Regions from separate parts of the Homo sapiens genome. Here region 2 is linked to region 1. The links are contacts of gene promoters, found by promoter capture Hi-C in human tissues and cell types (Jung and others, 2019). All regions are on one chromosome and are shown on one strand. The core of a region is centred on a gene start or on the middle of the fragment in contact, and the rest is flanking DNA. Distances in the headings are between cores, read along the strand shown. Region 1 holds the start of CDH12 (cadherin 12). Region 2 overlaps CDH12 (cadherin 12).

Region 1 (3,918 bases), core at 11-2,510:
CCCTTCACGTGATAGACAGGTCACGAAATTGTTTTGTTTGTAAAGTCTCCCCAAGCCATTTCAATTTGTCACGATACACAAAGCTTGGCTACACCACCTACATCAACACATTTGTATTCAGTGAAACAAAAAGATTTCAGACAGTCCCAATAATTTTATTCTTTTTCAACACTAGCATTGAAAAGACATTGTTATTTGTGTACAGTCCTCCTGTAGGGAGACATATTTTTAAAACTGTATTGAGACTCTGTACTCTTGAGATTTTTTATAGAACAAAATTAAATGATTATCTGAAATATTGTGGCATTCTTGATGTCTGAATAATAAAATGACTTAGAGTCTTAGAAAATACACGATTCTTGGTGAATATATTTAAGCAAATGTTTATTCAATAGTTAGCACTTTAATAGTGAAACACAAAGAAAGATAATCATGGTTAAAGAATGCAAAGTTGTTTTGTGGCTTTTGGAGGAATAGGTTTTCAACAATAACACTTTTCATTGTAATATTTTATTGCCATTATAATATTCTATAAAGTTTTAGGTAATTATTAATAAATTCTCTCATATAAAGAGAAATTAACATTAATTTTTAAAATCTTACAATATTTAAACATGACAAAATTAAAACAGACCAGACTAATGTATATAGTCTTAGCAATCTTGAGTTCTTCATAGACTCTGAACCAAGTTAAATCAGCCTAGAAACAAGTAAGTGAATTAGGAGAAATTGCTTGAGCATGGTTATTGTCACCAATAAGCATCTGATTCTCGTTTAGACAATTAAACATTGAGACAGCTTCCAGGTAAACGTAATTAATTGTCTTGATTCACAAAAAAGACTCAAGCGACTTAGTGGAGGAAAGACTAATAGAACCCAAGATTTTTTCCTCCCAGGTGACAGTTCTCTGATATGCAATAGATCTCAAGCATTTAAAAAGCAAAGCTTCGGGTGCTAACCCAGGTGCTATCACTTTCTCAGCGCCTAATCTTCACCCGCTGCTAGGCTCGTTTAATGAGTCTTCTGAGAGCTAAGGAGTCCTCGGATTCATTCAAAGCATTCTACAATGAACGCTAGGGGGGAAAAAGAACAAACAAAATACATTTCAAATATAGGATTCAATTACTTTTCACTACTCAATGATGTGTCAAAGGCACGCTGTGTTTTGTTTTGAGGGCGGGGAGATGACAGGAGGGAATCCTGGGCCCCCATTGGCTCGCCGCTCGCCGCTGCAGTTGAGCTCCAGCCGCTCCGAGAGCATTATTGATCTGAAGGGTAAATGTGGAGGGAGCCACAGAGAGGGGTCCAGGCTTTTCTGAGAAGAGAGGCAGCCTCTTCCAGGAAGAAAGTGGTGTCTACTGGCTGCCCGGCCTGGAGAACCTTCTTTGAATGAAAACGGACAAAATGCAAAGCAGTGTGTTGGCACAGTGATTTGGAAAGGGGAAACAGAAGAGAAGGGTCTCACCTTCCGCGCAAGGCTGAGCTGTTGGCACCCTGCTGCGGCCGTCGGTGCTGCTGCTCCTGCAGCTGCCTTTTCTGCCATCAGGTAAGGCTTCCGTTTTTGATTGGGATTGCACCGCGTGTGTGTGATCGCTTCAGGGTGCATGCACAGAAATTCATACATGATTAATAAAGTGATGCCTAGCGTAGTGAGAAGCTGAACGAAGCTGCACACAGATCTGGCAGCTGAATTAGGAGCTTGTGCGTGGTTTTGCTTTGGGAAACTTCGGTAAGTTCTAAACAAGTCTCTGGTCCTCAGACCGTGAGAGGTTACGTGAAAAGAGGAAGGAAAGAAATGTTTTAACCTCAAATGCATCTTAGCATGGCTAAATTTTCAAATGAAAATAAGTAGGTGTGCTAGATGTCCAACTAGTTATTTTATAAATGGCTTTATAGATATCTGATTTTTACAACAAAATAATGAATGCTTTATTTTCAAAGAGCTTCCAGAGATGCCGACCCCCCTCACTCATTTCTCCACTGACGCTGAAATTTATGAACTTCATTCTTCATTTGAAAAATACCACTGTAAAACCATTTAAATGTTTTAATGGCCTGCCTCTCATGGTACAGCCATTTGAGTTTCCTACCACAAAACTAATCTGGGACAAATGAAAGAGATAGATTACCAGATCTGCTGTGGGTTATATAATATGCATTTCCAAATTATTTTAAGGTTATTGATCATTTGGTGATACATTTAACAAGGAGGAAATATGTGTGATATAGGACATAATGGCAAATCATTTTTCAAAAAAGACCTTCAGCATTTTATAAGTATTTTCTTATGTTTTTAACATCATTATTTGTTTTTTGCTACATCGGGACCACAGTGTATTTAGAACCTCTGTACTTCAGAGTACCTGATATCTCTTATACACATTTCTCTGTACTCTCTGGAGAGGGAACTGACATACTTCTGGCTGATTCTGCGACCATTTCATGATTCTCAATTTCTCATCGAGTATTTTGAAGCTCATTCACAAACTGCTCAGCTAGAAAATTACCTTACATACTGAGGGGGAAAAATTCAAATAGAGTAGATTCTGAAAATGTGTTTACAGTTTTAAATTACACTATACATGACCAAAACAGGAAAAATGCAACCATGCCAAGCAGGTATTAGTTTGCTTGATCTTCACTGTATACCTGAGCAGTTGTAAGGTTATAAAATAATATCCAGACACACAGCTGTCAAGAAATACTGAACCTCATCATTCAGTGGCAGCGCCTCATCATTAAATTATCCTAGACAATTTAAAATATCATCTTATATATTTTTATTATTATGTCAACAGGAGAATTCAACCGAGTAAGTTTTTATTATAAATAATTCCATGATTCTAGCAGAATGTCTCTTCAGAATTGAAAGGCAGATGGTTACTTTGCCCAAACCATGAACAGGTGATTGACGAATTGTTTTGGAGTGGTTGAGTGGATAGCCACATGCAAAACAGGGGCTTCCCTTTAACTAATTTAACTGATACATCGAGTTATTCAGCAACAATATTTAGAAACTGTCTCTCCACCTTCTATGAAAACTACTGAAGTAAAAAGAGGTTTTCAATTAAGTTGAAAATCGAATTCTAGAACATAACATATTTTTCTCTTAATAACTCTTACTTCAGAGACCAGTTTCCAAGATTAGCCCTGGCATTGTTAATCCCCTTCCCCATTAAAAAAATGTTTTTGATTTTCTGTGTTGTTCAGTTAATCTCTGCTTGCTGTGTTCTTAACTTCTACTGTGGTGTGCCATTTCCAAGCAGTAGGGGGAAGTTTTTAAGCCACGAATGCTTTTTTATTTTCTACTCAAACTCACTCCTCTCACTGATCTGCTTAGTGATGTGATCATTTTAGATAATTCCTACAAAAAAGAGAAAGCTGCATTATTGTTGGGGGGAGGGGGAGGGAGTGTGAGTCATTTCTTCCACACACGGAATGATATGTATTAAGTTCTTACTACAGTACAAACAGTGTTTAGTTTATGGGGAAGAAAATTTCTCTTAATGCCTCATGTGACGTACTTACACCTCATATAACTCTGTCCTTTGAGGATGGAGCATAAAACTGATCTCCTTAAATTGAGCATCTTTTGAACCTGATATTTTGGCAGAGCCTATTTCATGTAACAGTCTGGGATATAGGTTGAAATCAATCCTTTATCATTATGAGATTAATAAGGATATATGTCACTCTTGCCTCTTAAAATGCATTGTGATGAACATCAAATCAGTCTTGCCATGATAGGAGGATTCATAGAGTGATGGCTGTCTTTAAAAGTGAGCCATGTTTTCATGTAAAAATATAAAATCTAAGGGCTTGGGTAATAAAATGACCTACTAGCAGACTCTGTTGTAAATTTCTTCCTACTTCCAAAGGGAAAGAGTGATTACAGATGTCTCATTTAAAGTAAGATAT
Region 2 (3,690 bases), core at 1,091-3,590, 72 kb after region 1:
CTCACCTACCTGAGAAAACTAATTTTCAGTAAGTTATCTGATTTTAACAAAGTCTATTCTAACTCCATTTTCTACCGGGTTTATTAAAGCCAGTGTGAGCCGTGAAACTAAGCAAAGGTCGAGGGAACTGAGCTGAACTCATTACCATTCATCTCACAGCTTTGCCTTTACCTCAGGATGCAATTCACTGGGATAGTGTGTCTCATGTATTTATAAACAAAGTGGATCTTTTCCATGGTATTTTATGAACATTACTACTGATACAACATTTAAAGTGGCACGTGCATATTTATAAATATGTTACAACATTAAAAAGATCCAAAATGTGGCTTCAGTTTTGAGCCTAGGTCCTAAAAGCAAAACCTAGTCATTTTCATATGATATTGAAATTACCAAAATTTATTCTTTGCATTGTATTATGAATTAGCCACACAGCATTCCTTAATTTATATAAAGCAATAAAATGGCACCTAGATCTACATCCCTTTGCTTTTATTTCATCCTTGAAAAATGAGGAGATCCAGATATAATACTTTTTAAATGTAAGTGAATGTTGCTAGCAGGAAGTATTTAGAAGTAAATGAAAGTTTTTATTTAATGTATGTGAATGAATATTCCATCATTGATTTGTTTGTTTCATTGTGAAGACTTGACATATGCCCTCTAATGCATGTTCTAGGTATGCTGCTCCACCAAATCCTGTGCATGGTTTCCACATACGATATGTAATTAAAAGCAGGTAAGAAACAAGCAGACAAATGATAATCCTTTTTCAAAAATTTCTTGGAGGATATCATCAAACTGAAGTCAAATTTATGATTGTCAATGAATAGTTAACCTAGGTCATAGATAAGAATCTCAAGGATCAAAGAAACCTATTCTATTAGTCTGTTTTCACACTTCTGTAAAGATATTACCTAAGACTGGGTAGTTTATAAATAAAAGAGGTTTAATTGACTCACAGTTTTGCATGGCTGGGAAGGCCTCAGGAAACTTACAATTATGACGGAAAGCAAAAGAGAAGCAAGTACCCTCTTCACAGGGCAGCAGGAGAGAGAGAACGCTGGGGAAACTGCTACTTTTAAACCATCAGATCTCATGAGAACTCTTTCACTATCATGAGAACAGCACGGGGGAAACCACCCCCATGATCCAGTCACTTCCCACCGGGTCCTACCTTGGGCACCTGGGGATTACAATTCACGATGATATTTGGGTGGGAACACAGAGCCAAACCATATTATTCTTCACCTGTTCCCTCCCAAATCTCATGTTCTTTTCACATTTCAAAGCCAATCATGTCTTCCCAACAGTCCCCCAAGGTCTTAACTCATTGCAGCATTAACCCAAAAGTCCAAGTCCAAAGTCTCATTTGAGACAAGGTGAGTCCCTTCTGCCTATGAGCCTGTAATATCAAAAACAAGTTAGTTAATTCAACAATACAATGTGGGGTACAGACATTGGGTAATGGGGAATGTTCCCATTCCAAATGGGAGAAATTGGCCAAACAAAGGGGCCACAGTCCCCATGTAAGCTGGAAACCAAGAAAGTCAGTCATTAAATCTTAAAGTTCCAAAGTGATCTTCTTTGCATGTCTCACACCCAGGACACACTATTGAAAGAGGTGGACTCCCAAGGTCTTGAGTACCAATTTCTTTTCTAACAATTTTCTTGAAAAATTATCTTTACCATTTCCTCCAATCCCTTGTCTGCTATTCAATAGTATCCCTAGAAGCTTGGATCCCTCCCCTCACCATCCTTTCATGGGAAGTGCATTCTGGCCGAAGAAGCAGGGGAAATTAATAGATTCAGTTACTCTGGACTAAAGAGTACAGAACCTATTAGGGGGCAATTGCAGTCACTTACTTCCAAAGGAAAGCTGCCCATTACTGCTGAGAATAACAGCTAACAAAGCTTTTCAGTTCTAGGTTGGAACTAAAATGCAGGAAGATAGGTCAGTGCAAGGGGAGAAATGAGAAATAAGAGTCCTGTGGTGGGAGGAGACTTGGGGGTTGTTGGCTTAGTAACTGCAGAGCCAAAGAAATGAAATAGACAGAAAGAAGAAGAAAAGGGGCATCGGCAAAAGCCTCATCACAGTCATATAAATTATACTTATCCTGTGCCCCAGGCACTTTCCAATTTCAATTCCTGTTTTTGAAACTGAAAATGTGTATCAATTCTAGACCATGCAAAAATATTTAATCTTTGGGATGATTAATGAGATTAGATTTGACCAAGCTTCTTGCCACGGTTAGGAGCTGTAAAGCTTTGCTTAGAAAAATCAAGATTCATTTTTTTCTTGAGTGCAGCACTTTGAATAACATCGTACAAAATTGGAATGCACACTTTATATTTATAGAGGATTCAAAATATATTTAAAAATGTAACAACTCAAGGATTTGAAATAATCAGCTGACTTATCCTGATCATGCACAGTTCATTCAAATAGTCATTCTTTTCATCAGTGTGTCACATTTATAGTGAAGAGAGAGGACTTATAGGAATGGGTAAGGTTATAGGGTGTTTGCTTTTCCTCCAGTACTCCTATTGTGTCAGTAATGATTGTGTTTCAGCTGACAGTGAGCTGTTCCTATTACTGCTAAAATTACTATTTACAGACTACTAAAGCAAATATTTATACCACAAGTATTTGGAAAAGTTCTTTTATAAAAGTCATAAATAAATATTTGTCTATAGATCACACTTAAAAAAAAGAGAGAAACAGGGTCTCATTCTGTCACCTACGCCAGAGTGTAGTGGTGTGATTATAGCTGATATGGTTTGGCTGTGTTCCCACCCAACTCTCATCTTGAATTGTAGGTCCCATAATCCCCACATATCGTGAGAGGGACCTGGTGGGAGGTAATTGAATCATGGGGGCAGTTATCCCCATGCTGTTCTTGCGATAGTGAATGAGTTCTCACAAGATCTGATGGTTTTATGAGAAGCTTTCCCTCCTTTGCTCTGTACTTCTCCTTCCTGATGCCCTGTGAAGAAGGTTGCCTTTCTTCCCCTTCACCATCCACCATGATTGTAAGTTTCCTGAGGCCTTCCTAGCCATGCAGAAATATGAGTCAATTAAACTTCTTTTCTTTGTAAATTACCCAATCTCACGTATTTCTTTATAGCAGCCTGAGACTGGACTAACACAATAGCTCACTGCAGCCTTGAAATCCTGGACTCAAGCAAACCTCCCATCTCAGCCTTCTGAGTACCCAGGAATACAGGCATGTGCCACCATACCGACTAATTATTTGTTTGTTTCTTTTGGTAGCAACTGGGTCTGGTTATGTTACTCAGGCTGGTCTTGAACTCCTGGCCTCAAGTGATCCTCCTCCCTTGGCCTCCAAAAGTGCTGGGATTGCAAAAACGAGCCACTGTGCCTGGCTAGATTACACATTTTAAAAGCCAAAAGCCAGCATTAGCAAAAACCAGTTTGCTTATTTTAAAAACCAAAGCCACCAATTTGTCATAAGCAATTTTTACACTGTTATAAAGAAGATGAACTTATACATAATTTATTTAAAATGTATTAAATGTGTACTATCAACCAAATTCTGTGTGAGGAACTAGGGATATAAAGGTGAAAAATTAATTTCTCTTTCCAATTACCAGTGTATTAGTTGGTTCTCACACTGCTATAAAGAACTGCCTGAAACTGGGTACTTCATAAAGAAAAAAGGTTTAACT

What was found. Contacts are between HindIII fragments. The study calls those that stand out against the background at their distance.
Region 2: a contact is called between a fragment that was not itself captured here and the fragment with the promoter of CDH12 in region 1, in 3 of the 25 tissues and cell types used here (aorta, dorsolateral prefrontal cortex and stomach).

What each region holds. Positions count from the first base shown.
Region 1 is chr5:22,850,686-22,854,603 of GRCh38, reverse strand. CDH12 (cadherin 12) reads left to right here and starts at 1,260. Exons shown (of 15, transcript NM_004061.5): 1 at 1,260-1,546. The HindIII fragment of the contact is 14,494 bases long and covers 515-3,918 here.
Region 2 is chr5:22,779,803-22,783,492 of GRCh38, reverse strand. All of the region lies in intron 1 of CDH12 (cadherin 12), which reads left to right. Among named protein-coding and RNA genes, the nearest start is that of CDH12, 72 kb to the left of the region's middle. The HindIII fragment of the contact is 4,411 bases long and covers 135-3,690 here.